Regions from separate parts of the Homo sapiens genome. Here region 2 is linked to region 1. Evidence: promoter capture Hi-C in human tissues and cell types (Jung and others, 2019). All regions are on one chromosome and are shown on one strand. The core of a region is centred on a gene start or on the middle of the fragment in contact, and the rest is flanking DNA. Distances in the headings are between cores, read along the strand shown. Region 1 holds the start of DGCR8 (DGCR8 microprocessor complex subunit). Region 2 has its middle 9.2 kb from the start of TBX1.

The links. Contacts are between HindIII fragments. The study calls those that stand out against the background at their distance.
Region 2: a contact is called between a fragment that was not itself captured here and the fragment with the promoter of DGCR8 in region 1, in 1 of the 25 tissues and cell types used here (dorsolateral prefrontal cortex).

Annotation. Positions count from the first base shown.
Region 1 is chr22:20,075,743-20,082,886 of GRCh38, reverse strand. DGCR8 (DGCR8 microprocessor complex subunit) reads right to left here and starts at 2,646. Exons shown (of 14, transcript NM_022720.7): 1 at 2,504-2,646. RefSeq lists an enhancer at 1,828-1,887 and a silencer at 2,148-2,767. The HindIII fragment of the contact is 8,782 bases long and covers 1-7,144 here.
Region 2 is chr22:19,747,999-19,755,142 of GRCh38, reverse strand. No RefSeq gene overlaps it. Among named protein-coding and RNA genes, the nearest start is that of TBX1, 9.2 kb to the left of the region's middle. The HindIII fragment of the contact is 4,857 bases long and covers 439-5,295 here.

The DNA.
Region 1 (7,144 bases), core at 1,397-3,896:
GGATAGCAGTGGCAACCAAACCTCAGCCAGGCCCTGTTCTAAGCACTTTAAGCATTTTAACTCACCCAGGTCTCACATAGCATTATGGAAGAAAGGTTCACCCACATGCTCAAGGTCATACAGCCAGGAAGTGATGGAGCTGCTTTACAAGCAGGCAAGCTGGCTTGCATCTACACCGCCTCTGTTTTATACCATCTTATGGTTTAAAAGAACCACTCTGGGCCGGGCGCGGTGGTGCACGACTGTAATCCCAGCACTTTGGGAGGCTGAGGCAGGCGGACCACAAGGTCAGGAGATCGACACCACCCTGGCTAACACATTGAAACCCCGTCTCTATTAAAAATACAAAAAATTAGCCGAGTGTGGTGGTGGGCGCCTATAGTCCCAGCTACTCGGGAGGCTGAGGCAGGAGAATGGCTTGAACCCAGGAGGCGAAGCTTACAGTGAGCGGGAGATCGCACCACTGCACTCCAGCCTGAGCAACAAAGCGAGACTCTGTCTCAAAAAAATAAAAAGAATCACTCTGTGGCCAGGCACAGTGGCTCACGCCTGTAATCCCAGCGCTCTGGAAGGCTGAGGCAGGCAGATCATTTGAGGCCAGGAGTTCGAGACCAGCCTGGCCAACATGGTGAAACCCCGTCTCTACTAAAAATACAAAAATCAGCCGGGCGTGGTGGTGGTGGACGCCTGCAGTCCCAGCTACTTGGGAGGCTGAGGCAGGAGAATCGCTTGAACCCGGGAGGCAGAAGTTGCAGTGAGCTGAGATCACGCCACTGCACTCCAGTCTGGGCGACAGAGCGAGATTCTGTCTCAAAAAAACAAAAAAAAAAAAAAAGAAAGAAAGAAGAATCACTCTGTGTCCAGAAAAACTATAGATGGTGGATGGGGAGTGAGGACCTAAGGTGACAGTAAAGAGAATTAGAGGCTCACCAGGTAGGCTGGGCCAGGATGTTAACTTGAAGGTGGTGAGAAATGGTCTGTGCTTAGAAATAGGTGAGCTGACGGGGCCTCCTTAGGACTGCATGAAGGTGTAAGAAAGAGAGGAATCAAAGGGACTTTAGATAGGCCAAGGAATGTTTTGGCATGGGTGAAGATTTGAGTTTGGTTTGGATATGGCTACTTGGCGCCAAAGTAACACATGGAGATATGGAAGAGGTGGCCAGAAACACCAGGCTGGAAATCAGAAGAGAGGCCAGGGCTGGAGCTGTGAAGATGTCAAGGAAAGCTGGCATTAAAGTCAGGAGGCTGGGTGACATCACAAAGGAGAGGGCTACAACAAGAGAGTCTAAGACTGGGCAAGCCAGCCAGAAGCACATTTCCTACCCCAAGGTCACGGTGAGACTACAAAACAACCCCTGGGAAGTGCTCCACACAGCGCCTGGCCGCAAAGGGCTCAAAGGGGAGCTCTCTGCCCGTAGGCCTCCCCACTGCTCCAGCTGACCAAACACCGCATGCAAACCCTGCCTTGCCAACAGGACTATCGGACAGGAACGGGCTCACGGCAAGCTCCCCTGGACCCTTGGCACGGGGAGAAAACCCGTACACTTGGACAGCACCCTTCCTCCTAGCCCACTTGCTGTGTTGGCTAACAGAGGCACTGGCTGTGACGGGCCAGCACCAGTGCCAGCGCCATGGAGGCTGCCTTTTGGTCAAGTCTCTCCCGCTGCAGCCTCCCGCCCAACCCAGCGGCAGTATGACCTCATCCGTTCCTTTTGTCATCCTCCAACAGGCCTCATATCCCGCACTTAGAGGCAACACTGGGTACCCCGGGCTGGCCATTCACTCCCTTTTGTGAGTGAAGGCCTGCAGCAGGGTTTGGGCCACTCCCACAGCTGGGAGTCTAGTCTGGCCAGGAAACAGTGGATCCTCGCCTGGTGGTTGGCCTCGAACAGTCGACAGCCAAAGACAGGACTGCCGTGCAGGAACAAGGTACATGCAAGCATGCAAAAAGGCAAATCAGACTCCTGCCACAAGAAACCCAAGTCCATCGGTTGACACCAGACAGGCATCACTGTCAACAGGTTGCCACCTTCCATTTATTTCCGCCATGCTCATTGTTACAATAAAACCGTATCCCAATTATCTACGTGACACTCAACCCGTGAGCATTCTGTGGACAAAAAGACTTAGGCGACTTCTTGGATTTCCCAAACTGTGTTAAAGCCGGCAGGGTCCCAGGCGAGCACTGGCCCTGTCCACACCTTTCCCGCCTGAAGGCGATGCTAGGCTTCGGGCCCTCCGGGAGAGGAGCCTCTTTACCCGGGCGGACAGCGACGAGAGTCGGCAACGCCTGGGCCCGGGGCCCGCCCCCCAGCCCCGGAGGCGTCCCCACCCCGCGCTCTCCACCGCCCGCGGCCATGTTGCCTCACAAAGGCCGGGCTCCGCGCCCCCGCCCCGCCCGCGGCCTCGGTCCCGGAGGGAGGCGGGAGGGAAGGGCGCGCCCTCGCGCAGGCCGCGGCGCCCGCCCAACCGCCCGCGGGCGCCCCTCGCGCCCCGCACCTACCTGAGGCGCCCGCGGGCTGCCCAAGCCGCCCGCAGCCAAACCACAGCCGGGAAAGCCTCACCGACCGACCGCCGCAGCCATCTGGAAAGCCTGTCCAGGCTCTCCGGTCGCCGGCACCCGCCTGCCGCGCCGGGCGAGCGGAGGGCGGGCCTTCGCGGCGTGCGGCCAATCCCCGCGCGCGGCCGCCCCGCATTGGGGGAGCCGCAGAGCGCGCTGCGGAGGCCGCCAATCGGCGGCGCGTAGCGCGTGTGTCCGCCGCGCGCGGCCCAATAGCGCGGCCGCGCGGGAGGGACCAGGCGCCCAGGCCGCGGTCGCGCTAACAGTCGCTGCCCAGGCGGGGCTCGCTGGACTGAGGGCGGCGGCCGCGAGGAGCGCCGGGAACGGGAAGCACCGGGAATGCCGGGAGCAGGGGAGCGCGGGAAGCTCGGGGAGCGCGGGGAATGCCGGGAACAGGGAGCGCGGAGTACGCCGGGAGCGGACACGCAGACGGGCCACCTTCGGTGGACACTGCAGAAGAGACCGTGCACACACAGGCGTTACACAACCCTGTTAAAAGCATCACTGTATCAGACATCATCATTTATAAAGAACGCGTGTGCTCAACTGTCTGGCGCTGTCCCCTTTGCTAATACAGGATTTCCAAAACAGGGAGGGTTCGGCCGGGCACGGTGGTTCGGCCGGGCACGGTGGCTTGCGCCTGTAATCCCAGAGTTTTGGGAGGTCGAGTCAGGAGGATTACTTGAGCCCAGGAGTTCGAGACCAGCCTGGCTAACATAGTGAGAGCCCAGTATCTACAAATTTTCTTTCTTTTTTTTTTTTTTTTTGAGGCGGTGTCTCGCTTTGTCTCCCAGGCTGGGGTGCAGTGGCGCGATCTCAGCTCACTGCAACCTTTGCCTCCCGGATTCAAGCGATTCTCCTGGCTCACCCACCCGAGTAACTGGGATTACAGGCGCCCACCACCACGCCCGGCTAATTTTTATATTTTTGGTAGAGACGGGGTTTCACCATGTTGGCCAGGCTGGTATCAAACTCCTGGCCTCAATTGATCTGCCCGCCTCGGCCTCCCAAAGTGCTGGGATTACAGGCATGAGCCACCGCGCCGGGCCCAAAATTATTTTTAATTAGCCGCGTGGTGGCGGGCGCCTGTGGTCCGAGCTACTCGGGAGGCTGAGGTGGAAGGATCACCTGAGTCCAGGAGTTCCAGGCTGCAGTGATCCGAGATAGCACCACTTTCACTCTAGCCTGGGCGGCAGAGTGAGACTCCGTCTCAAAAAAAAAAAAAAAAAAAAGGAAAACGAGGGTCTGAGTAAGTGAGGGTACAGCTCTTCCTTAGACTAGCTTTCCTGTCAATAAATGTGGAAGGAATAGTGGAAATAGAAAAATTTTCCACTGGGTAGCCACCCCAATAATAGCTGCTGTAGACGAAAATCTTGAGTGATAAAAATAGTGGGCCGGGCCCTGTGGCTCACGCCTGTAACCCCAGTACTTTGGGAGGCCGAAGCAGGCGGATCACCTGAGCTCAAGAGTTCCACACCAGCTTGGGCAACGTGGCGAAACCTTATCTCTACTGAAAATACAAAAAGTAGCCAGGCGTGGTAGCAGGCACCTGTAATCCCAGCTACTCGGGAGGCTGAGGCAGGAGAATCGCTTGAACCCGGGAGGTGGAGGTTGCAATGATCTGAGATCGGGCCACTGCACTCCAACCTGGGTGACAGAACGAGACCGTCTCCAGAAAAAATAGTGAGCAAGGCCAGGCACAGTGGCTCATGCGTGTAATCCCAGCACTTTGGGAGGCCGAGGCGGGCGGATCACTTGAGGTTAGGAGTTCGAGACCAGCCTGACCAACATGGTGAAACCCTGTCTCTACTATAAATACAAAAAAAAATAGCAGGGCTTGGTGGCAGGTGCCTGTTGTCCCAGCTACGGAGGCTGAAGCTGGAGAATTGCTTGAACCTGGGAGGCAGGAGTTGCAGTGAGCCAAGATCCAGCCACTGCACTCCAGCATGGGCAACAGAACGAGACTCGGTCCCCGGCCCCCAACCCCCTACAAAAAAATTAGGCCAGGCACAGTGGCTTACGCCTGTAATCCCAGCACTTTGGGAGGCCGAGGCGGGTGGGTCACGAGGTCAAGAGATCAAGACCATCCTGGCCAAGATGGTGAAACCTCGTCTCTACTAAAACTACAAAAAAAATTAGCTGGGCATGGTGGCACGTGCCTGTAGTCCCAGCTACTCGGGAGGCCAAGGCAGGAGAATCACTTGAACCTGGGAGGCAGAGGTTGTGGTGAGCCGGGATCACGCCACTGCACTCCAGCCTGGGTGACAGAGTGAGACTCCATCTCAAAAAAAAAAAAAAATAGTGGGCAAAAACATGACAAACAGGTTTTGTTTTGTTTTCAGTGTTGCAAAGTTTCTCCCCCAGGATACTAATTGCCTAGGGAAAATAGTAGTTTTAGAGTGGAAGAAAACTTGGGCGACACCACCTTTAACCAAGCCATCAAGGTCACCAGCAAACTTAGCAAATTGTACCATTTAAACATGTGTATTGCATTGTATATAAATTCTGCCTCAATAGAAATGAAAAAAGTTAGTTCCAGTAAGAGGACATACTGTGGACCTCCTGAGAAGAACACAAGTTCACTTGTGGGTATTTTTGCCCAAAAGGCAGAATCTGAATGAAGAGCAGACAAACCCCAAATTAGGGGCATTCTGCAAAATTACCAGCCAGTGCTTTTCAAGTATCGAGATCATTCAAGTCAAAGATGGACTGAGGAGCCATCTTCAATTAAAAGAGATAACAAAATGCAGTGTGGAATCCAGACGATAGATGGGATCCTGGCTCAGAAAAGGGACATTAATGGGACAATTGATATAATTCAAACAAGGTCTGTAGATTAGTTAATACTATTGTATTGGCCTGGCGCGGTGGCTCACGCCTGTAATCCCAGCACTTTGGGAGGCTGAGGCAGGCAGATCACGAGGTCAGGAGATCGAGACCATCCTGGCTAACAGGGTGAAACCCCGTCTCTACTAAAAATACAAAAACATTAGCCGGGCATGGTGGCACGCACCTGTAGTTGCAGCTACTTGGGAGGCTGAGGCAGGAGAATTGCTTGAACCCGGGATGCAAAGGTTGCAGTGAGCTGAGATCGCGCCACTGCACTCCAGCCTGGGAGACAGCAGGAGACTCTGTCTCAAAAAAAAAAAAAAAAAAAAAAAAAAAAAAAACAAACAGTAAAAAGTATCGTGTTGTTGTATTGACAAAAGATTATTTGCTTGGCCAAACTTTAGTCAGGCTCCTAAATCTTCTAGGCCCGTCTGAGAATTCCAGTTTAGCAAGAACCACCCTGCTTTTGATATCTGATCGCCCTCAATACTGATGAAATTCCTCATCCCTCCACCATCCTCTAGGTGATGTCTGATCACCCCAGCCTGTCTTCAGCAAGAATCCTCTTAGGTCAGCTTAGCCAGTATCCCCCTTATCACTTATGTTTCTTCTTAGTAATTTTTCATCCACTGACCCCCGCCCTGCTCCTTGGCTATCAGTTCACACTTGTCCATGCTGTATTCAGAGTTCAGCCCAATCTCTCCCCTGCAGCAAAACCCCATTGCCTGTGGTCCATATGCCAGTGGCAATGCTCCTGAATAAGGCCTTCCCGACCGTGCTTTGACAAGGGCTGAATAATTTTTTTCTTTAATGGTTGTGGTGCCACAGGCCTCTGACCCAGGACTCTCAATGTGCAACTTTGCAGCCTTTGTCTTCTGACTGGCTGATTGGGGATCTACTGGTGAGTCAAACTCCTGAGCCATGACTGTAGAAAAACTTTTATTTTAGCTGGTAAGGACAGATTTTGATTTTTAAGGTCCCAGCCTTCTTTTGAAAGGTATAATACTTCCTGGGTTGGAAGGTCTTCCTTGTGGCTCTTCATTCTGAATGGGGATTCACTCCCTGACTCCTGGGCTGGCAGTCTTTTCTTCCCACTGTGAGGCCTCTCTGTTCTCTCTATTGGATCCTACTTCTCCCATCGGAACTTCTCAGTCACCTGAATCCCCTTTCCTCAAACCCCTTCAGACTATATACTCTGCCAACTTTATTTATTTGTTTGTTTATTTATTTATGTATTTATTTAAGACAGAGACTCACTGGGTCACCCAGGCTGGAGTGCAGTGGCGCAGTCTCGGCTCACTGCAGCCTCCACCTCCTGGGTTCAAGCTATTCTCCTGCCTCAGTCTCCAAGGTAGCTGGGACTATAAGCGCACGCCACTACGCCCAGCTGATTTTTTTGTATTTTTGTAGAGACCAGGTTTCACCATGTTGGCAAGACTGGTCTCAAACTCCTGGCCTTAAGTGATCTGCCTGCCTTGGCCTCCCAAAGTGCTGGGATTACAGGCGTGAGCCACTGGGTCTGGCCTCTGCCAACTTCAGTTGCAGAGCAACTACATATGTATGTTTGTATGTTATATATACATGATATTTTTCTACCTCCAGATAGTAGCACCAAATTAATTTATAAAATCCCTTAAAGGAATAACTGACTCTGTGCTAATATATATAGCAACTGGTTGTTCCAGAATGAGAAAGAAAAAAAATGTAGGGGAAAAAAAGTACTGATAGATTTTTTTTTTTTGAGATGGCATCTCT
Region 2 (7,144 bases), core at 1,618-4,117, 330 kb after region 1:
TCTGTGCATAGGCAGTGGGTTTGCAGCCTCTGGGGCGGGTGCTGAGTTAGAACTGGGGGCTGGGGACTCCTGGAGTGGAGGGACCCAAGCCAGAGCCAGAACAGGGGCCAGGTCCGCCTCCAGGGAGGGCTGGAGACAGAAGCGGTCTACTTCCCTGCCTGCCAGGGCAGGGCGCATTTGGGTCCACCGCCGGATCTCCTGTGCCACCGCAAACACTGCCTGCGATGAAGAAGGAGGCCGTTCCTGTTACCCAGCCTGGGGTCTCAATGGGAGTCCTCCCCAACCTGTGGCTCAGGTGGTCCCACTGCTCCTTGACCTTGCCCTCCCTGGACCTCTCTCCTCCCTGGCGCCCGCCTCCTGACACGGAAGTCCTCACCAAGCCCACCCCCACGTGTTCTCCTTGGTGTTGGGCCTTTACTCAAACTGCTGGGGTCGTGGGTACTCTGGCTGGTTCCAAGCTCTGGGGGGTGTGTCAGACAGCAGGCAGGAACCCTGCCCAGGAGCTCCAGGCCCACAGCCACGTTCCCAGGAAGGGGCCCAGGGCTTGGAGGAGGTGTCCCTGTGAGTCTGGTCAGGACCAGGCTGACCACATAGCTGGCAAAGGCCTGGGAGTTAGACACAGCCTGGTGTGCACACCTTGTGGCTGGGAGGACACTGGACAGGATGACAGGAGGTGTGGCCCCCTCACCCGGCCCAGAGCATCCCCTGGGACTCTTCCTAGGCCCCAGCACCATCTGCTCCCTGGTCCCAGGGCAGGGTCTGACCCGCCTGAGAGTCCTAGTGCCTGGACCCTGGGGGACAAAAGACTGCAGGATTGACAAAGAGAACAGCGAGACCCTGAGAGAGGCAGACATGGGATGGGGTAATGGGTGGAGAGAAGACTGGACAGGGAAGCACACAGCCGTGTGACACCAGCCTCCTCCCAGCCGGGAGGGGGCCGGCCAGGGTCTGCACAGCCAGCCGCATACAGCTGGTCCCCAACCTCCTGTCACCCGGCCTAGCTGTCCCCCGCAACTATGGGTGCGATGTTCTGGGCCAAGTTCCCAGGAGGACAGATGTGGGGAGATGATGAGAGGGATGGCTGGCCGGATGGGTAATGGCACCCTCTGCCCCCCGACCTCGCCAGGCACCAGGACTCCCTGCAGACTGGAAGTTCCCACAACTCCAGAACAAACAAACAAACAGACAGACTGATGGACAGCCCAGCCCTGGACCCCTCTCCAATTTCTGAGGCTGTTGATTTAGCTGCCCACTTGGTGGGAGGACCCAGCCACATGGGGAGCTGGCTGTCCATCTGTCTGTCCATCTCCTGGCCACACTAGCCCCTCCACCCCAGGTGCAGCCAGGCAGAGGTGAGGCTCTGAGACCCTGGAAGACCTATGTGCAGGCTGGTGAGGTGGCTGGATCTCAGCCTGGCGGGCCAGCTGAGGAACCAGTCCCTGCTAGCCCCCTTCCCTTCTGTGGCCCCAGCAGGGGGAGCCACACTTGCCAGGGGAAGGGACTTGTCCCAAAAGACCCTGGAGGAGTGTTGGCTGAGGGTGAGTGGCCAGAAGATGGACACGTGCAGACAGGCCCCTCCAGTTCCTCTGGGCAGCAGGGAACCCTGACTGGACAGTAGCTCCCATTTGCCCATGTTCAAGCACCCACACCACCACGTGCACACATACTCATGAGCATGAGCATGAGTGTATGTGTGTGTTCACACCATGTTCATACTCAGGCACACATACATGGGAGTGTGGGCACATATGCCTACACATGTGAGCATACCAATATTGTGACCATGGGCACATGTGTCCACATGCACATATCAGACACACAGACGTGAGCATGGGCACACACAGGCACACTGCATGCAGACACACGGACTGGGCCCAGACGCACACATGCACACTGTATGCCTGCAGACACGCAAGCATGGGCACTCTACATGTACACAGACGTGAGCACGGGCATGCATGCACCTCTGTACATAGACACACGTGAGCATGGGCACACACATGCACATAGCAGACACCAACACAGACACCAGTGTGAGAGAGTGTGCACACACAGCACATGTAGCAGATATACATACAGGCGCACACATGTGCAGGCTTATCACTCACAGTGGCCACTGTAACCCTTCTACAATAATGACGATGCTCACATGTGCCTTGGATTGACTTGACTTGGGCGAAGCACTGTGGAAGCTTGCTGCTGTGTGAGGAAGGAAGAATGCAATATTTCAGTCCTCTCCTGCTGGGTCATTTCTGAAGGGGATGCACTCGGATGATGGCATCCGACTGGCCAGCCTGCTTCCTTGGACATTGGTACTGGAAGAGACTCTCAAGACAAGATCGGTCTACAGAGAACCTTCTGGGTGGAACTCCTTGGGAGGCCACTTTCCATGCTCAGACCCCAACCCTGAATCTTGCTTGGTGGCGAATGAGCCCTGGGAAGCTCTGAGAAGGAAGGCTCTGGGGACAGGGCCAGAGGCAATGAGGAATGACAACTAAGCCAGTGACCTCAGCACCTTTGTTAATGGGTCCTAACGAGGCCATGCCCCCGTAAACATTGGATATGTTGTATCTCTCTTTAAAGATGCTTAAAGCATTTAAAGTAGTCAAATATATCACACTTGCAGTTTTCATTAAATGCTCAATTGATTCAAGTAGTCCATACTGTCACTGTGACAGCCCAGTGTGACTGCTGGGAGAGACTGTGTGGAAATCCTGTCTCAGTGGAGGGGAGGACTGGCCCCACACCCTGTGCCTCTCGGTCCACTCTGCTCCCTGGCCAAGCCCCCAAGGCTGCTGGATTGTCCCTCCTAGGCCAGGACTGTGCCCAGGTGCCCAGGCTGGCATTTGAGCCTCCCTGCCCACTGCTCTGGGCAGACCCTGCTCATATCTCCCCCTGTGCTTGTGGGGGCTGACCTGAGGCGCCCTCACTGACCTGGGGCCAAAGGCAGGTGGGCTGCCCAGGCTGGGGCAGGTTTTGGGGAGTGTCCCTGATGGGCAAGGCTCTAGCACGGGAACCCCTTTGCTGAGACCTGTGGAGGATCCCCAAGCCCGTGGGCAGAGGGGGACCGGGGCCTGGAGAGATTAGTTGCACAGGCAGCTTTCCCTGGTCGGGGTGGCGATGCAGGGCTGGGGGCTGCCAACTCTGTCTGGTCTCCCGCCTTCCCAGGGGAAGGAGCTGGTGAGAAGGCTGGCAATATTTCATTTCAAAGGAGAACAGGACTGCTTCGGCAGGACCCCTGTACTCTGGGCCCTTCTGCACAGGGAGGAACCAGCGTGGTGATGTCGCCCAGTCTCAGGAGCTGGGTCCAGGAGCGAGCTTCACCCTTCAGGGCTCTGTGTCTGGGAACACGCCCTGGCCTCTGCAAGCCTCAGTGATGCTATCTGAGAAGTGGGGAGAATGCTGCAGGCCCCATGGGTGGATGGAGCCAGCACATGTGGGCCCTCAATTGCAGCTCCCCAGCTGATGTCACTATTGTTGCTGCAGGGCCTCCTTGGGCCCCTCCCAGCCCCGCAGGTCCTCCCAGCACTGTGAGTAGGGTGGCTGTTGCCTCCATAGCCCCTGTGGAGCCTCCAGGCCTGGCGTGAGGTTTGGGGAGGGGGAATCACAGCTGGACCCCCCAGGAGGCCCAGTTAGGCACCCTCTCCCGGCTTCCCCACTGGGTCCCTGTGCCCAGATTCAGCCTTGGTTTCCCCACATCCACAAGCCTGCCCCAGCCCCACCCCAGACCTGACAAATCCCTTCCCTCCTCCAAGGCTCTGCTGAACCAGGTTGGAATTTCTCAAAAGCAAACAAACAGGCAAGCTCGGAGCTGCGGTTTTCAGAGCTCAGATTCCTCATGAGTCTGTCTGAGCCAGCATCAGGCCAGGCCGGCTGCCCCACGGCAGGCTGGATGGAGTGGGGGTCCTCAGCTGAGCACCCCTGGCCCACTGGCTGCTGGAACTGAGCAGGGACCAGGCTCAGAGCCTACAGTCCCAGACAGCACCTGGCTGGCCCGGTTCCCTCCTGAGACCCAGCAAGAATGGCAGGAGGCTGAAGCCAGTGCTGAATTTGGGTCTGGAGTGGCCGGGTGGGAGGTGGACGGGATCCATTGCCGTGGCTGGTGACGATGCCTGTATCTATGCAGGGCTGGGGGACATAAAGGGTGAGGATTGGAGGGACTGGAGGCTCAGGGTGGGGGTTAGGCCAGGGTATGGGCTGAGGAGAAGTGACCCGAGGTGGCCATCAGAGCGGGTGGGGACATCCTCAGGCCCATGGCAGGGCAGGGCAGGGCAGGGCGTGGAGGCTGCCGTGGAGGAACGTGGGGATGGGAGAGGAGGGCCGGGGCCGGGAGGGCACCTCAAGGGGCCGACAGGGTTAGGAGGGAGGGCTGGGGAGAGGGGAGGGGTGGGAGGGGTTCTCGCCAGGTGGTCTTAATCTCCTCAGTGAAATAGGAGTCCTGGGGGGTGGGCGGGGGAGGTGGGAGCTGGAGACAGCTGCGGGAGGGGGCCGGGCCTGACAGCCTGAGGCCACCAGGAACCCCTGCCTACCGGGCCGACGAGTGTCCGAGTGTCTGTGGGCTGAGACTCAGAGCCGGTTCTTCCACCCACCCCTTTTCGCTTGGCCTCATCTGCCTTTACTGAGATGATTTTGGTCACCCGGAGGGGCTGGCATATGTCTGTGGGGGTGTCGTCTGGGCCCTTCCTGCTCTCTTAGCTGCCTGAGTGACTGGGCAGGGCAGGGCCTGGGCCACTGACACCCCCTCACTTGGGTCCCCACTAAGCTGTTGTCTGCTCTGAGGTAATGCCAATGGGGCTAGGGGGTGCAGGGGGGAGGGAGGAGGCCTTGGCCATCCCTGTACACCTCAGCTTCCCCTGCCAGCCCAGCTCAGGGAACAGAGGGACAGAGCGGGGGGTGGCGTGGGTCCAGGACACATGTGGCTCCTGTGTGGACGTCCTGGGAGACGGGAGGGGGCATGGGCAGTGTGGAGGCGCGGGCTGCCCTGTCCTGCTAAGTGGGTGCTTGGCACCAGCTGTTCTGGGTGGACAGATGGATGTGAGCTTTTACCAGTGCCCTAAAGTCAATCCAGCCCCTCCCTCCAGCGTGTTTGCCAGGACCGAGTGACCCAGCAGCCACCCCATCCTGGGCGGGGGTGTGGACGGGTGTCGGGCTGTCTCAGTCTTCACCAGGAACTGCCAGGCCCTGGGGCTGGTCTGAGTGTCCAATGTACCCACTGCAGTGGAGGTCCCAGCCTGGAGAAACGGAGGCAGTACCCCTGACACAGCTGGCCTGGAACAGGTGGGGCAGGAGCACCTGGGCCATCCCTGGATCCTCTAGGCTGGCTTGGCTCTCCTGTGGACCCCATGACCAGGGCCCCTCTCTGCAGTGCCCACCCACACCCCCATGTGGCTCCCATGTAGACAGAGCCCCTGGCCACCTGTCCCCTCCCTCCCGGCCCTGTGCCCTGTCCCCACCACCACATAAGCCAGCCTTCTCCCCTTGCACCTGCTGAGCCCTGCACCCTGCTGATTCTCTCTGTTCCTTGGGGCTGTCAGGGTGGCACTCGCCCCAGGGCATTTGCTGTTGTGTCATTGTTCCCCCTGGGTCAGGCTCAGGGTCACCAGGGCTTCGGGGGCCAGGGAAGATAACCCCCGAGGCGACCAGCCGGCCTGTCTCCCTGTGTAGAGCAGCAGAGAGCAACAAGGCACAACCAAGACGTGCATGGTCTCAGATGTCACCGAGGGGGTGGCACATGAATCCCGCTAAGCCAGCCCTCGTGAGCTGGAGGCTGGGCAGAGGCACGGCAGCCCTGGCTCAAGGAACAGGCTGGGCTTGGGGGTCTCTGGACACAGGGCCGTCAGCCCTGCACTGGTGGGACTGGTTCACTAGCCTCCCAACTCCAGAACCCTTCAACTGAGTGTTCACGAGAGTTCCCTCATGTGGCCTCAATGTCACTAACCCCCGAGCTCCTCCTATCCATCTCTGCACATTCAAGACACAATGAGTCTTAGTCACGCCCACACTTAGAGTGAATTTTTGCAATTAAGTTCTTTCCTTAAAGTCTGCTACAACCAGCCAGAGTCTTAACTCAGGACAGAGTATGTTTCAGTCTAGGGAGATAAAATAGGGCGATACCCTGCAAACATCTGCAGGGCTGTGCAGGGTCAGAGGAAGCAGCCCAGGTCTAAGGGAAGAAATTTCGGGAAGGAAGTCACTGCTCCTAAATGAAAAAGAGCTATGCAACATCAGAGCTGCCTGGGAGGTAAGCAAACACAGTGCCCCAGGGAGAGCAAAGCGACCCTTCTCCCCTGAGGGTGGTGGGACACTGGGCTGCAGGGATGGAAATTGAAGGGCTTTTTTCTGACTCCAGAATTGGGTGTCTGGCTTTGCTTCCTAGGGATGGAGGTGCCTTCGGACTCTCAGTGTCTCCGCCCCAGCCTCAGTGCTGCACTTTGGAGCTTGCTTGCCTCCTCCACAGCCCTCCTTGCTAGCCCAGGACCAGGGGAGTGTGGGGTGACTGTGTTCTGGATCAGGGACCAGGGCAGAGGTCTGAGGCTGCAGTGGTAAAAGAAATATCCCAGTTTGACTCCCCGGAGCCTTGTAGGTGTTGTGAGAAGTGATAAAATGATTGTAGAGTCCCTAGCATGGTGTCAGCAAATTATACCTGCCATGTATCCCTTTACACACATATACGCACACCTCTACATCATATCTGCAAATTCTACCATGAGGATGCAGTGAGGGTCATTGTGCAGGTGCTGAGGACACAGTCCCGGGGTCTGGACACCAGCCTCTTGGTACAGGATGTCTCCCCCTTCATTCTACACGTGCTACCTTTTTTAATGTGGCCCCAACTGTCCCCTGCTCTGATCTTAAGGCTGGAAGTCTCCAAATCGGTGCCCAGGCCCTTTCAGACCTCCTGACAGCCCCCACCCCAACCCCAATCAACAGTTGGCCTATGGCCTGGACCTAGCTCCAGAGCCTCCCCCCATGGTTTATAAGAACAGCCAGCATCAAGCATCTTGGATTTCAGATAGGGGGACCCCCCACCTGGTGGCAGCTGACACCTGAGCCCACCCTACCCAGTGGCAAGGGGCAGGGGTGAGTGACCCAGCTGGAGAGAGCTGCCATGGGAACAGTCAGAAAATCCCAGTGTCACTCACCC